2 separate regions of the Homo sapiens genome follow, and region 2 is linked to region 1. Evidence: promoter capture Hi-C in 16 types of primary human blood cells and fetal thymus (Javierre and others, 2016). All regions are on one chromosome and are shown on one strand. The core of a region is centred on a gene start or on the middle of the fragment in contact, and the rest is flanking DNA. Distances in the headings are between cores, read along the strand shown.

What was found. The method cuts DNA at HindIII sites, captures the fragments that hold promoters and counts their contacts. A CHiCAGO score of 5 or more calls a contact.
Region 2: a fragment that was not itself captured here is called in contact with the fragment with the promoter of CC2D1A in region 1 in 14 of 17 cell types (total CD8 T cells, erythroblasts, monocytes and 11 more); the score reaches 7.1 in total CD8 T cells.

The regions. Positions count from the first base shown.
Region 1 is chr19:13,904,457-13,908,064 of GRCh38, reverse strand. It overlaps CC2D1A (coiled-coil and C2 domain containing 1A), which reads right to left and starts at 1,864. Exons shown (of 29, transcript NM_017721.5): 1 at 1,564-1,864. The coding sequence starts at 1,623. It overlaps BRME1 (break repair meiotic recombinase recruitment factor 1), which reads left to right and starts at 1,948. Exons shown (of 9, transcript NM_001345843.2): 1 at 1,948-2,350; 2 at 3,152-3,203. The coding sequence starts at 3,173. RefSeq lists a silencer at 1,490-1,549. The HindIII fragment of the contact is 3,878 bases long and covers 1,144-3,608 here.
Region 2 is chr19:14,138,900-14,142,455 of GRCh38, reverse strand. All of the region lies in intron 1 of ADGRL1-AS1 (ADGRL1 antisense RNA 1), which reads right to left. Among named protein-coding and RNA genes, the nearest start is that of ADGRL1-AS1, 3.5 kb to the right of the region's middle. The HindIII fragment of the contact is 2,934 bases long and covers 1-2,885 here.

The DNA.
Region 1 (3,608 bases), core at 615-3,114:
CACTGCACTCCAGCCTGGGGCGAGAGAGCAAGACTCTGTCTCAAAAACAAACAAACAAAAAAAGAACCCCTAACCACAATGCAGGTTTGCCATGCAGACCCGTCTTCCTATCTTGGCTAATGACCAATCATGATGTGATAACATCGTGTTTAACCATATGAAATTGCCTTTCCTGTAGGTAAAAAATGGCCAAATATTGGCAATTATGTATGGTTCCACCAACTAGTAATAATGATAATAGTAACATTTATTGAGTGCTATGTTCTAGCACTTTCCATAAACTATCTCAATGACTCTCTACAACTGTCCTGTAATGTAGGGTCTCTTGGAGGTCTCCATTTTTAATTTTTTATTTATTTATTTATTTTCAGAAGGAATTTATTTATTTATTTTGAGAAGGAGCCTTGCTCTGTCACCCAGTCTGGAATGCAGTGGCGCGATCTCAGCTCACTGCAACCTCCGCCTCTCGGTTCAAGCGATTCTCCCACCTCAGCCTCCCGAGTAGCTGGGATTACAGGTGCCCGCCACCATGCCCAGCTAATTTTTGTATTTTTAGTAGAGATGGGGTTTCGCCATGGCCTCCCAAAGTGCTGGGATTACAGGTGTGAGACACCACCCCGGACTTCCATTTTTAATTTTTTATCTTTATTTTAGAGAAAGAGTCTTGTTCTGTCACCCAGGCTGGAGCAGAAGTAGCGCAATCATAGCTCACTGCGGTCTTGAACTCCTGGGCTCAAGCAATCCTCCCTTCTTAGCCTCCCAAGTAGTAGTACTACAGGCACATGCCACCATGCCCAGTTAGTCTTTTTTTGTCGAGACGGGGGTCTTGCTTTTGCCCAGGCTGGTCTCAAACTCTGGCCTCAAATGACTCTCCCACCTCTGCCTCCGCCTCCATCTCCTGAAGTGCTGGGATTATAGAGATCTCCATTTTACAGATGAGAAAGCTGAGGCTCAGAGCTGTAAAGTCAAGTGTCCGATGTACAGAGGCCAGGAGGGAACTTCAGGTCAGCCAGACTCTAATATCTGAACACCAAGCTATGTCCTGGGCTCCTTCCATCAAAACTGAGAAAAATCAAACTATCTGGTGCCTGGGGCAAAGAAGTCGGGAGAGTGAGAAGGGGTCCAGCCACAGTGCCATAAGCTTATGGCTGCAGCCCTGGATTTGTGCTTAGCCCTGGCCAAGCTGTTAATCCCTATGACCTTGGGCAGATGTCTTCACGTCTCTGAGTCTCAAAGTCCTCATCTGTACAATGGAATAAAAAGAGTCTGACATGGCCCGACTGATGCAAGGGTTTGATGTGTCAAGTCCGAGGACTGCCCCTCCTCGACTGGAGCAGCTGTGGCAACAGGTGGCCCCGAACCCGGGGCAGGGCCCCAGGAGCTGGGGAGCCAAGGCCAGTAGGCCACACTTGGGTGGTGTTGGAGCCTCACCTGGGGGGAGGCGGGGACCGGGGCTTACCTGTGGGGCGGAGATCGGGCTTCCCTGGGGGGTGGGGCCCTTCCCTGAGCGAGTGACGGGGGTGGGGAGGGATCCCCAGGTCGGGCCGTGGGGCGCAAACTCACCTGGCGGGCGGCCGCGGCGCCTCTGCCCGGGGGTCCCGGGGGTCCTTTCCTCTTGTGCATCTTCAAGGCTGGATGCCCGGACCACCTGCCCCCAAGCCCGGCCTTGCCCTGCCTCCTTCCCCGGGCTCTGTCGCCGCGCACTCGCCCTTCCTGAGTCCTGCACTCCTCGTCGGCGCCCCGCGGCCGTCGATCCCGAGCCCTCGCTTCCCTGCTTGGCCGTCCCACTTCCGCCTCGGGCCTCGGGCGCCGCCGCACCGGAGCGCGGCCACTGGGCTCGCCGGGTCTGCCGAGCCGAAACTACAACTCCCGGCAGGTAGTGCGTGGGCGCGCAGGCGCCTGGCTGGGGCGGTGCTGACTGTCGCGGGCTGCGAGGGCGGTGTTTGCGTCGCTCATGCGCGGGGCGGGACCTCGCGGGGCGCGGGAAAGAGGCAGAGCGCGCGCAGGTGTGAGGGGCGGCGACATCTGTGGGGTTCAGAGCGTCTGTCAGTCACCGACGGGCTCCGGCTTCACGTGGGCTCTCGGCCTGTGGAGTCCTCACTTCTCGGTGGTCGGCGTAGTGTCAGTGTGGGGCTTGTCACCGGGAGCGGGGTCTACAGCGCCCACCCTCAGGCCTTTCCATCTTTCACCTCCGGACTCGAGGCCTCCAGCGTTCTGTGAGGGCCAATTTGGCCATTTATTTTTTCCAAAAAGAGTAACGCGGATAATTCAAGCGACTTATTCCCAACTGATCCAGGCAGAGCTCGTTTCTGATAAGGACAGAGGGTCCTCAACGACTTCTGTGGCCCAGGTCCGTTCTGGTTTGCCTCGCCCCCAAGGCTGGGAGAAACCGGCCTATGGCAGCTCTTTCCCCTCCAAGGACCCAGCTGTCCCCTTTAAAGTGGCACGATCTTGGCTCATTGCAACCTCTGCCTCCTGGCCTTGTACCACAGCCTCCTGAGTAGCTGGGATTACGGGTGTGTGCCACCGCACCTGACTAATTTTTTTTTTTTTTTTTGAGACGGAGTCTCGCTCTGTCGCCCAGGCTGGAGTGCAGTAGAGCGATCTCGGCTCACTGCAACCTCTGCCTCATGGGTTCAAGGAATTCTACTGTCTCAGCCTCCCAAGTAGCTGGGATTACAGGTGTGCGTCACGATGCCCAGGCTAATTTTTGTGTTTTTAATAGAGAGGGGGTTTCACCATATTGGCCAGGCTGGTCTCCAGAGGCCCCTGGAGAGTCCTCAAGTGTCCTTGGAAGGGCCCCCAGATACCCCAGTCTGGAGGGAGGGGCTTCACACAGGCTGTTTCATCCTAGGGACCAGAGTCTGGGTCCCCGGGGCTATCTATAAGGACCCCCCAGGGCCCATTTGTCTTTCAGGTCCTGGGCATAAGATCTTCAGTTTGGAGGAGGTTTGAATTCCTACCTGGCCATGGCCCAAAGTGGCTGTGACTCTGTGTCCCATCCTGTGTCCCAGTGGGAGCCATCTGACCCCTGGGGCAGCCAAATGGGCTGAGGTGGAGGTAGGGGTAACCTCTGCTCTCAGCCAAAGCCACTGGATATAAACAGAGACAGAGACTGCTTATAATGATGAGAGATTTTGCTTGTTTTCAGATTTCTCAAGGGGAAGATAAAATGACTAAGAGGAAGAAGCTGCGGACCTCAGGTACGTTCATTCAAATGGACACTTGTTGATTTCTGCTTCTGCTTGTGGGAAGAATGTGGGCTTGTTTATTGCAGATCTGGCTAACACGACTGCCTTAACCTCCTTAAAAGGAAGCAAGGATTGGCCGGGTGCGGTGGCTCACACCTGTAATCTCAGCACTTTGGGAGGCCGAGGCGGGCAGATCACAAGGTCAGGAGTTCAAGACCAGCCTGACCAACATGGTGAAACCCCGTCTCTACTAAAAATACAAAAATTAGCCAGGTGTTGTGGCACATGCCTGTAGTCCCACCTACTCGGGAGACTGAGGCAGGAGAATCGTTTGAACCTGGGAGTCCGATGTTGCAGTGAGCCAAGATGGTGCCACTGCACTCTAGCCTGGGCAACAGAGCAAGACTCTGTCTCAAA
Region 2 (3,556 bases), core at 169-2,668, 230 kb before region 1:
CCGCCAAGTATGACAGCACGACGGATAGGCGGTCTACCAGGGAAGCTCATTACTCAGTGACCAGAGTTGTACTTGGGGGTGGTCGTGTACCAAAATGCCAGACTCCAGAAGGAGAGCAGGTGTTCAACATGAACCACATTGTTGGTGGAAACAGTTTAGGCACTCATCATTTGGGGAACGGCAGGAACCCTCCTGAAATCCAAGTTCCTAGATATCAGCCAAGGGCCAATCTTGCAAACAGGTCTTTCTAAGGATAGCAGTCTCAGGCCTGCTAGGTTAACTCTAAATTGCGCAGACACCATTTATATAAAAGTATAGAACATGACAAACAATACTATATATTGTTTAAAGATACACGCCGATATGCACAGAAGACTGTAAACACCAAATTCAGGGTTGTGGTTACATGTGAGGAAAAAGGAAGAGGAATGGGTTTGATGTAGGGGTATAGGGCCCTTCAGTTGCATCTCTAATGTTTTAGCTGTTAAGCTGGGTAACAGTATTTTGCTATAGCACTTCTTATACTTTCTCGAGCATGTGTGCACCTGAAGTATTAAACAAGAATGAAGACGTATCTGCTTATTACTATATGCTACTAACAGTTCAGTCTTTTGTTTGTTTTTAGACAGGGTCTCACTCTGTTGCCTAGCTAAGCTGGAGTGCAGTGGTGAGATCTTGGTTCACTGCAACCTCTGCCCCCAGGGCTCAAGCAATCCTCTCACCTCAGCCTCCTGAGTAGCTGGGACCACAGGCACATGCCACCACACCCGGCTAATTTTTTTATGTTTTGTAGAGACAGGGTTTTGCCCAGGCTGGTCTCGAACTCCTGAGGTCAAGCAATCTACCCGCCTCAGCCTCCCAAAGTGCTGGGATTACAGGCGTGAGCCACTGCACCTGGCTGGTTCATGTTTATTGAGTACTTTTCACATTCCAGGTACTATGCTAAACCCACCCTTTACATAGATTTATTCTTTTTTTTTTTGAGACGGAGTCTTCCTCTGTCACCAGACTGGAGTGCAGTGGTGCAATCTAGGCTCACTGCAACCTCCACCTCCCAGGTTCAAGCAATTCCCCTGCCTCAGCCTCCCAAGTAGCTAGGACTACAGGTACGCACCACCACGGCTGGCTAATTTTTTGTATTTTAGTAGAGACAGGTTTTAATCATGTTTGCCATGATGGTCTCGATCTCCTGACCTGGTAATCCGCCCACCTCGGCCTCCCAGAGTGTGTGACTCACTGCGCCCAGCCAGATTTATTCTTTTTGAAAAATTGATTGAGGACTTTCTATGAGCCACGTCCTCTGCTAAGCTCTGGAAGTACAACATTGAGAGGTGTGAGCTAGGCGAGATCTCTTCTCACAACCAGCTTTCAATCTACTGAGGGATGATGAGATAATAAGCACAATTTAAAACCAAAATAAGTAGAAATTCTTTTTTTCTTTTTAAGATGGAATCTCTCTCAGTTGCCCAGGCTTGAGTGCAGTGGCGTGATCTCGGCTCATTGCAGCCTCTGCCTCCCCGGTTCAAGCAATTCTTCTGCCTCCTGAGCAGCTGGGACTACAGGCACGTGCCACCACGCCCAGCTAATTTATTTATTTATTTATTTATTTATTTTGTATTTTTTTTTTTTAGTAGAAACGGGGTCTTGCCATGTTGGCCAGGCTGGTCTCGAACTCCTGACCTCAAGTGACCGGCCCGCCTTGGCCTCCTAAAGTGCTGGGATTATAGGTGTGAGCCACCATGCCCACCCGAAAATAAGTACAAATTCTGATATGCGTTACTAAGATCATAAAACTGAGTGATGTGATTAAGAAAAAGCTACTTTATTTATTTATTTATTTTTTTTGACACGGAGTCTTGCTCTGTCACCCAGGCTGGATTGCAGAGGCACGATCTCAGCTCACTGCAACCCTCACCTCTCAGATTCAAGCGATTCACCTGCCTCAGCCTCCCAAGTAGCTGGGACTACAGGCGCCCGCCACCACGCCCGGCTAATTTTTTGTATTTTTAGTAGAGATGCGGTTTCACCATGTTAGCCAGGATGGTCTCGATCTCCTGACCTCGTGATCCGCCTGCCTTGGCCTCCCAAAGTGCTGGGATTACAGGCATGAGCCACCGCGCCCGGCCAAGAAAGTGCTACTTTAAATAGGGTACTCTGGGAAGTCTTCTTTCAGAGGACATTTGAGCTGAACCACAAGCGAAGAGAAAGAGACAGCCATGCAATTATCTGGAGGAAGCACATTCCAGGCAGAGGGAACGGCAAGTGCAAAGCCCTGCGGCAGAAATAAGCTGGGTGTGTTGAAAGAAGGGAAATAAAGCCAGCTGGGCTTGAGAGCGGTGACAAGAGGAAGAATGGTAGATGAGGCCTGAGAGGTCAGCTGAGGCCACCACGCAGGGCCGCCTAAGCCATAGGAAAGATCTTAGGTTTCATTCTAAGTAGGATAAGCCTCTGAAGGTTTTAAGCAGAGTAATGACATGATCTGGTTTACAAGTGAAGATCATTCAGCCAGCTGTAAGGAGAATGCATCATAGACAGGGCCACATTCTTCATTAGCGCCACGGAAATAATGCTGGTGGATCATGAGCTTCTCAGGGGCTACGAAAAGGTCAGGGACAGGGATAAAGGGAAAAAAGTTCCACAATGCAAAGAGAAAACTACAAAGTTGGAATGAATAAATGTTTAATTAAGCATCTAGAAATGTGACATCATGACAACTGCATTAATCATTAAATTTAGTATTCATAAGCAATCGAATTACATTTGGAAATTAGATTTTCTCAAATCACAAATATCCCTAAGTATGCAATGATTGCCAAGAAATCAAGCGAATCATAAATGTGAGTTTCCTTGAAGCCAAATAATTTCAAAAGAATAAAAACAAAGCTTTCGATTTTTTAACAGCTAAAAAGAATTTTTCTTAACTTAATGTGAGATGTAGATACCAAAAATGGGCTAGGCGCTGTAATCCCAGCACTTAAGGACAAGATAGGTGGACTGCTTGAGGCCAGGAGTTTCAAGACCAGCCTGGGCAACAGCGAGACCCTGTCTCTACAAAAAATTTAAAAAGTATAAGAGGCAGGGCACGGTGGCTCATGCCTGTAATCTCAGCACTTTGGGCGGCCGAGGTGAGTGGATCACCTGAGGTCAGGAGTTTGAGACCAGCCTGGCCAACATAGTGAAACCCCATCTTTACTAAAAATACAAAAATTAGCTGGGTAAGGTAGCGTGTGCCTGTAGTCCCAGCTACTCGGGAGGCTGAGGTGGGAGAATCGCTTGAAGCTGGAAGCAGGAGGTTGCAGTGAGCTGAGATTGCGCCACTGCATTCCAGCCTGAGTGACAGAGCAAGACTCCCTCTCAAAAAAAAAATAAAATAAAATAAAACAAATTAGGCATGGTGGCACGCACTGGTGATCCCAGCCACTCGGGAGGCTGAGGTGGGAGGATCACTTGAGCCCAAGAGTTCCAGGTTATAGTGAGCCACGATTATGCCACTTGCACTCCAGCCTGGGCAACAGACCTCTATTAAAAAAAAAAAATCCCACAGGAACTGGATTGT